Regions from separate parts of the Homo sapiens genome. Here region 1 is linked to region 2. Evidence: promoter capture Hi-C in human tissues and cell types (Jung and others, 2019). All regions are on one chromosome and are shown on one strand. Each heading gives the region's core, a stretch centred on a gene start or on the middle of the fragment in contact. The rest is flanking DNA. Distances are from core to core; before and after follow the strand shown.

The links. Contacts are between HindIII fragments. The study calls those that stand out against the background at their distance.
Region 1: the fragment with the promoter of CCL22 here is called in contact with the fragment with the promoter of CPNE2 in region 2 in 1 of the 25 tissues and cell types used here (heart left ventricle).

The regions. Positions count from the first base shown.
Region 1 is chr16:57,357,135-57,361,258 of GRCh38, forward strand. CCL22 (C-C motif chemokine ligand 22) reads left to right here and starts at 1,649. Exons shown (of 3, transcript NM_002990.5): 1 at 1,649-1,755; 2 at 3,303-3,426. The coding sequence starts at 1,683. The HindIII fragment of the contact is 38,120 bases long and covers 1-4,124 here.
Region 2 is chr16:57,090,080-57,094,168 of GRCh38, forward strand. CPNE2 (copine 2) reads left to right here and starts at 2,504. Exons shown (of 16, transcript NM_152727.6): 1 at 2,504-2,711. RefSeq lists silencers at 2,026-2,095, 2,116-2,365, 2,476-2,525, 2,586-2,995. The HindIII fragment of the contact is 24,624 bases long and covers 1-4,089 here.

The sequences.
Region 1 (4,124 bases), core at 399-2,898, 270 kb after region 2:
CCTCTCTCTCTGAACCTCAGTTTCCTCCTTCATTAGATGTGTTCTTTTTTTTCTTTCTTTCTTTCTTTTTTTTTTTTTTTTTTTTTTTGAGATGGACTCTCATTCTCTCACCCAGGCTAGAGTGCAGTGGCGCAATCTTGGCTCACTGCAACCTCTGCCTCTCACCGGATTCAAGCGATTCTCCTGCCTCTCAGCCCCCCAAGTAGCTGGGATTACAGGCGCATGCCATCACACCCGGCCAATTTTTGTATTTTTGGTAGAGATGGGGTTTCTCCATGTTGGCCAGGCTGGTCTTGAACTCCTGACCTCAGGTGATCCACCTGCCTGGGCCTTCCAAAGTGCTGGGATTACAGTCATGAATCACTGCACCCAGCCCATGTGTTCTGAGCACCCAACATGTGCCTGATCCTCAGAGGGCCCTGGGAATGCCAAGAAAAATGAAGGGAGACCCCAGCCTCCTAGAGCTTGGAGTCTGACTTCTAGGGAGGGGCTTGAGAAAGAGAAAACCTGACCCAGTCTGCTCAGGGCCACATTCCAGGTCCCCTAGAAGGCTTTGAAGTCCTGAGAGGGTGTGCTTACCAAGGACATGACATTTCAAACAGCTTTGACGCATAAGTAGGAGTTTATGTGGTAGAGATGTGGAAAGTGACATTAAAGGCCAGGGACAGGCCGCAGTCCCTTTTGAGGAAGTGTGAGGAGTGTGGTGTGATCCCTCAGGGGAAGGAGACCAGTGGGGAAAGGCCTGTCCGGAAACGGGGCCTTGAAGGCCACAGACAGGAGCCCGGGACCTGCCTTTAGGTGAATGGGGAGCCACGGCAGGGTTCTGAAGCAGGAGAGAGAGTGTGTAGCTCTGGACCACTCACGCTGGCTGCTGCAGGGTGGGGATGGCATTGAGGAGGCCAGCATCCCAGCCTGAGGTGGAGGTGGCCTGGACTGGGCAGGAACAGTGGGGTTGGAGAGAAGGAGCAGATCTGAGAGAGATTTAGGAAGCAGAATCAACGGGACATGGACATGGTGAGGGACTGAGACAGGAGTGGGGGAGGGAGAGCCCGGCAGCCACTGGGAAGGAAGATCAGGCAGGACAGAAGTGTGGGTAGATGCTTTCCATAAACCGTTGAGAAATCCACGACCTGGCCCAAATGTGGACTTCACGAGAAGCCCCAGATGGGTCAATGGGTCCATAGGCCTCTCCCATTGAAGAGAGACCAGTAATGCCGTCATTAAGGGTACAAGACAGGCCTCAATTCTAGGTGAGGGTTGGTCCACGTTCTCACTTGATTTACAACCAGTGAAGTCAACAGAGCTGTGAAACCATCTCCCCCATTTCCAGATGGGGAAACCAAGTCCCAGAGACACCCAGACATGGCCAAGGCCACACAGTGCAGAGACCCTGGGGAGCACAAGCCTCTAAGAGGGGGATTTTACAAGTCTGTCTGAAACCAGAGGCGAGGACAGAGTTGAGGGGGGGTCCCCTCTGAGTGGTTCCCCGCCAAAGAGAATTTCTCCACTTTGGAGGAAGTGGGAGGTAGTTCTTCTTTTGAGATGTGAATGTCAAGTGACTCTGGGCACCCCGGTGACTAAGAGGTAAGTAAGTGAGGCTTGTGGGTGGAGCCAGCACCTTAAATAGCAGGTCTTCCTATGTCCCTTTGCAGACACCTGGGCTGAGACATACAGGACAGAGCATGGATCGCCTACAGACTGCACTCCTGGTTGTCCTCGTCCTCCTTGCTGTGGCGCTTCAAGCAACTGAGGCAGGTGAGGCTGGGGAGCAGGAAGACCCCCTACAGAGGCCAGGGCAGACGGTGGGGTGTCTTCCTCATGTCTTGGACAAGCACTGGACCAAGAGCAGAAGACCTCAGTCTGCTGTTGGCTCTTGCGGCCTTCGGCTAGTTGCAGTGCTTCTCTGGGCCTCAGTTTACAAGTCTGTTGAATGGGCAGTCTTGAAGACTTGGAGTCTAGGATCTGTCTCACCTGGGTTGGGGGTTGTGGTGGGCATAGCCTCGGGATCTCCTGCCCCAGAAAACTCAAGCATAGGGCCCTAGGGGTGTGGGTGAGGAGCTTCTAAGGGTCAGGTCTGAGTGGGGGAAGGCAGGGCTGGGGCAAGGGGTTCTCCCTTGGAAAGCTGGTGCTGCCCTCCCACCATCCATTTTTTAAAATGTTATTATTATTATTTTTTATTTTATTTTATTTTATTTTTTGAGACACAGTTTCACTCTTGTTGCCCAGGATGGAGTGCAGTGGGGCAATCTTGGCCCACTGCAACCTCTACCTCCCAGGTTCAAGCGATTCTCCTGCCTCAGCCTCCTGAGTAGCTGGGATTACAGGCATGCACCACCACACCTGGCTAATTTTTGTATTTTTAGTGGAGACAGGGTTTCACCATGTTGGCCAGGCTGGTCTCAAACTCCTGACCTCAGATGATCCTCCCACCTCAGCCTCCCAAAGTGCTGGGATTACAGGCATGAGCCACTGCGTCTAGCCTAAATTTATTTTTTATTTCATTTTATTTATTTATTTTTTGAGATGGAGTCTCTGTTGCCCAGGCTGGAGTGCAGTGGCGCAATCTCAGCTCACTGCAACCTCCACCTCTGGAGTTAAAGTGATTCTCCTGCCTCAGCCTCCTGAGTAGCTGGGATTACAGGCACCTGCCACCATGCCCGGCTAATTTTTGTATTTTTAGTAAAGATGGGGTTTCACCATGCTGACCGGTCTTGTCTCGAACTCCTGACCTCAAGTGAAACTCCCATCTTGGCCTCCCTAAGTGTTAGGATTACAGGCGTGAGCCACTGCTCTGGGCTCACTATCCATTTTTGTCCAGAACCTGTCCTCAGCATGGATTCCTGACTCCTCTTCTCCACCCCACTCTATACTTTTGCTGTGTTGGGTGGAGGAGTGAGCACTGGAGTGGGGTCAGGCAGCTATAAACAAGAATTGCTCCCAGCTGCTGGGCTTTCTGAGTGCTTTTCATGCATTAAAGACCCTCTGAAGCTGGTACTGTTATTACCCCTTTGGTCAGAGGAGGAAATTGGGCCTCAGGCTACAGCTGATGCTTAGTTGTTCTGAATCCCCGCTCCTAGAGCTGACTGTCCCAGAGTGTAGACATTGGACCCTAAGTGGCTTCTCAGAAGCTCCAAGGGTAGGGTCTTGGAGGGCTCAGAATCCTCTGGTCACCATCCTTCCACATGAGAACAGAAAAACTGCATCTCTTTCCTGGAGCCTGGAGAGGCCGAGATCAGGGGCTGGGGCCGAGGGTGACCTCTCTGGGCTCCAGCTTGTGAATTCACTGGGGACCCCTCCCCTAGGCCCCTACGGCGCCAACATGGAAGACAGCGTCTGCTGCCGTGATTACGTCCGTTACCGTCTGCCCCTGCGCGTGGTGAAACACTTCTACTGGACCTCAGACTCCTGCCCGAGGCCTGGCGTGGTGTGAGTAGGGAGCTGGGGCCACAGGGCCTTGGTGGGCCTGACGGGTACAGCCTGGGATGGCCCAGGTGCTGGTGGGTGGGACACACCCAGGGATGAGAGGAATGTGGCAGGGCTACCAGATGCCTGCCAGGATGGCTTGGCTGGAAGAGATGGCTCAGTTCAGGCTTGGGTGGACTACAAACAAAAATAATGTGATCGTTTAGCCAATATCCTCAGGCGCTTACTAGGTGCCAGGCAACATGTCAGGTTCTGAGGATGCAGAGCTGAGTGAACAGGGTGCCACCACAGTGTGGGTATGGCAGTAGGTAGTCAGTAGCTGTGGCATCTAGGGTATTTGGGTATAGCAGGTATAGGAGTATACCTAGTGCCACTGAGTCAGCAAAGATGCTCCCAGGTTCTGGGCAAAAATGGATGGTGAACCAGGCGTGGTGGCTCATGCCTGTAATCCCAGCACTTTGGGAGGCCGAGGCAGGCAGATCACTTGAGGTCAGGAGTTCAAGATCAGCCTGGTCAACATGGTGAAACCCCATCTCTACTAAAAATACAAAATTAGCTGAGTGTGATGGTGCGTGCCTGTGGTCCCAGCTACTTGGGAGGCTGAGGCAGGAGAATCATTTGAACCTGGAAGGTGGAGGTTGCAGTGAGCCGAGATCGCTCCACCTCACTCCAGCCTGGGCAACAGAGGGAGACTCTGTCTC
Region 2 (4,089 bases), core at 1,254-3,753:
AATCCTCCCACCTCAGCCTCCTAACTGGGACTACAGGCAGGTACCACACCCGGCTAATTTTTTTTTTTTTTTTGGTAGAGATGGTGGGGTCTCACTATGTTGCTCAGGCTGGTCTTGAACTCCTTGCCTCAAGTAATCTGTCTGCCTCGGCCTCCCAAAGTGCTGGGATTACAGGCAGGACCGCACTCTGCCTAGAATCTAACTTTAGAACATTTTTTATCATCTCCCAAAGAAACCCTTTGCCAATAGCAATCACTCCCCATTCTCCACTCCCCGGCCGAGGCAACCACAAATCTGCTTTGTCTGTTTGTGGATTTGTCTATTCTGGACATTTCATCTAAATGGAGCCATGTAATATTTGTCTGAGACTGGCTTCTTTCACTGGGCATAATATTTTCCAAGTTTGTCCATACTGTAGCATGTATCAGTACTTCCCACCTTTCTTTTTTTCCTTTCTTTTTTTTTTTGGAGGGGGGATGGAATCTCCCTCTGTCACCCAGGCTGGAGTACAGTGGCGCAATCTTGGCTGCAACTTCCGCCTCTTGGGCTCAAGTGATTCTCCTTCCTGCCTTCCGAATTGCTGGGATTACAGGTTCTTGCCACTACGCCTGGCTAATTGTTATATTTTTAGTAGAGACAGAGTTTTGCCATGTTGGCCAAGCTGGTCTTGAATTCCCGACCTCAAGTAATCGCCCGCCTTGGCCTCCCAAAGTGCTGGGATTACAGGTGTGAGCCACCACAACTGGCCAGTAATTCGTACCTTTCTATGGCTGTATAATATTCTATGTTGTGTGGATATACCACATTTTGTTTTTCCATTCATCAGTGGATGAACATTTGCGTGGTTTCCACTTTTTGGCTATTATGAATAATGCTGCTACGTACATTTGTGTATGTTTTGTGTGGCCATATGTTTTCATTTCTCCCGGGTAGATATCTAGGAGTGGAATTGCTGTGACCCCTGGCCTTTGTACTCTGCCTCCTTGGCTAGGGATCTAGTATCTTCCTTGACAGGCCCAACTATCTCATCCTTCAGGTTTCTTAAAGGAAGCCTCGCTGACTCCCATGGCTGAGTTGGGTCTTCTGTGCCACCCTACCTCCAATCTTTGCACATTTCATATGGTGATATGATGGCCTGGGTCCTGATCTTGGCCCCCACAGGTGAGCAACTTGAGAGAGACTATCTGCTTTGGTTCACCACTGTCCATCCCAGTGCCTGGCTCTCCTGCTGCTGGAAAGACAAGAGACAGATTCTGAGGCCAGAGCAATCAGGAAAGTCTTCCTGGAGGAAGCGGGGCTGGAGTTGGGTTGATAGGTTGGTTTGCCCCAGAGCGGGGCAGAGGGCTTTGATTGGCTTCGGTGGAAGAAAGGTGAAGAGAGCTTGGAGAAAGGAAAGATGGATGGGTGACAGGCAGGCAGAGAACAAAGCTCAGAGCCCCGGGGGCTGTTTAGTCTCGGCCCCTGTAAGGCTGCAAAGTGCCAGTGACTCAGACGTGGAGGGAGGCTCACAGGCTGCAGCGCGCGAGGCTCCCACATTAACCCTCACCTGCCTGGAATCGAAAAGCCACAATGGAAGCACTCGGCATTAACCCTCAGCTGCCCAGTCCTTGAGCCCCAGGGCCAAGGGCTGTGGACATGGCCTTGAGATCCCCGGGAAAGCCCCGCCCCCCAGAATCTGGTTACGTGAGGCTCAGCCTTCTGATGCCCGGTGGTGAACTTGCCCAGAGAGCACCTAAATACCGCGGAGTGGCCAAAGGCTTGAGCGCCCAGCGACAGACAAGTGTCCTAAGAATTGGTGCCTCTTCTAGGGAAAAGGAGGCCTGGGCTCCAAGGCCTTAAAGACTCGCCTAATTTTCCGCACGGATGAGTAGACCCAGGCCCAGTTCGGATCCGTCTTTATCTTATCGTCTGTGTCAGAGAAATATGTCATATTTCCAATCTCTGGCGGCAAGAAAATGCCGAGCTCTTTTGCTATTGAAAAAAAAAAGGGAAGAAAACACTGCGGCCCTAATCCTGCCCAATACAACCCAGAACCCAGCCTTGGGTGTTGCCCCGAGGGCGCAGCGCCGCTCCCATCGGCGCTGGGGGTCCAAGCGGCCCTGGGGCCCCGCAGGCCCGGGCTGAGGCCACCCCTCTGTTCCCGCGTCGGTGGCCCTGAGCGCACGGCGCTCGGAACTCGGAGGTGCCAGAGGCTCGGGCAAAGCAGGCCTGGGGAGGGCGCGAAGCCGCGTTGTTCCGATCCTCAGCCACCTGAGTCCCAGCCTGGAACCTTCGGACCCTCGCGTTCGGCCCGAACGTTCGGGCCCCCTCGGTGCCAGGCGCCCCGAGTGCCGCGGCGCGCCGGGCGCGGGCTGGGAGCGGCGGACTGCGGGCGGGACAGCGCCCCCGCTCCTCCCGTGGGAGAGCGCGCGCCCCTCCAGGAAGCTCCCGCCTCGCCTCCCACTTCCCTCCCCACTCCCCTCCTCGGCCGGAGGGAGGAGCCCGAGCCGCCGCCGCCGCCGCCGCCCGCCCGCCCGGCCCGGGAGGAGGACCGGACCCCGAGCGGCTGGGAGCGCACGCGAGCGGGCCGTGGCCGCGCGGGCAGCGCCCTGAGCCTGTCCCGCGCCCGCGGGCCCGGCCGAGCAGGAGCAGCTCCCGGGGATGCCCGGGCGGCTCGGAGCGCGGGCAGCGGCAGCCGTGCGGTGAGGGCGGTGGCGCCCGCGGGACCTGCGGTGAGTGGGGCCCGGGCAGGCGGGGCAGCTTGGCGTGAGTGCCCAACTTCGGCCTTGGGGCTGGGCTCTTTGATCCAGCTGCGGGTCCGAAGGAACCCGGGTTCCGCCTCGGGGGGCTGCGGCGCTCTAGCCCCCGCCGCCAGCGCGAACCCGGACTCCGGCGCTTCGGTGACTCAGCTCCGACCCGGCCACGCGGGGGCGCCCCGCCGGCTCCCGGACTGCGGGGAAGGGCGGGCGGGGTCCCTGGGGAGGGGGGCGCCCTCGGGGGTCCGAGCCCAGCTGCTTTGGGGACCCTTCCACCCGCCCCGAGGGGCTTGGAGGGCGTACGGGAGGTGGAGACCCGCCGCTGCCGCAGCTGCTGAAGGCGTGAGGTCGCCCTGGCTCTCGGCGGGCGCTGGCTCCTCTCCGCTCCCCTCTGCCCTCCTCCCACCCCTCAACACCCACCCCCTGCCCCAGGCAACTGCCGGAGGGCCGGCTCCCAGCCCCGGTACTGGGAGCGCAGAGGGGGAGTGGAGCTGGGCAGCTTCCCAGAAGTCGGAGTGTGTTTGCAAACTAGTTTTTGCGAAAAAGCTGTCTGGCACCTGTGTGTTTAAAGGGGGTGTGGGGGTGGGCATGGAGAGAGCGGGCGAACAAGGCCCTCTCTTATTCCCCGTTTCTCACAGCGATGCTCCTCTGAAAATAGAGGGGTCTTACACCCTCTTCCCTGCTCTTCCCACCCCATCCCCCAGCCTCGCTCCACGTCCCCCCGAGTTCAAGAAGCTCTCCTATGGGGAAGGGGCTGCTTCAAAGGGGGCTGTGATTTGCCCAAGGTCACAGATGCTGCTGGCTCTGGTAGCTAATAGGGTGTTCATCTTGCATCTGAATCCCCTGCCCCATATGTACTGGGGGAAGGGACAAGGGGTCTGGAAGAATGATCTTCCAGACAAAACGCCCTTTTTTTTGTCTGCCTTAGTTTTTTGCTCCCTTAGAGGTGTGTGCTGTCATCAAAGGTTGGGGGGCTTTTTCTGCCCCTTGGGCATCCACAGCTTCACGGACTGCAGGGAGCCCATGGTTTTCAGGAAACAGGCGGTGTGCGCAGATTGTAATCCCTGGCAGCTGCAGCCTGCCCTGATGGGGAGGCCTGGGAGACCTGGGTCTGAACCCCACCTATGACCAACAGGGAACTTGGCCCAGACCCTCCCCCCCTGTGGCCCTCTGGGTCACCATCTGTGAAATGGGCTGATGTTCCGGGGCCTGCCTCCTGGAGAATGGACACAGCATGAAGGCGTGGTTTTATGGCATTCCGCCTGGCATAGGTCCAGGTGAGCTCCAGGACCGCCCCAGCCAGCTGGATTGGAAGGGGTCACCCAGGCAGGTTTCTCCATGGAAAGAACCAGGG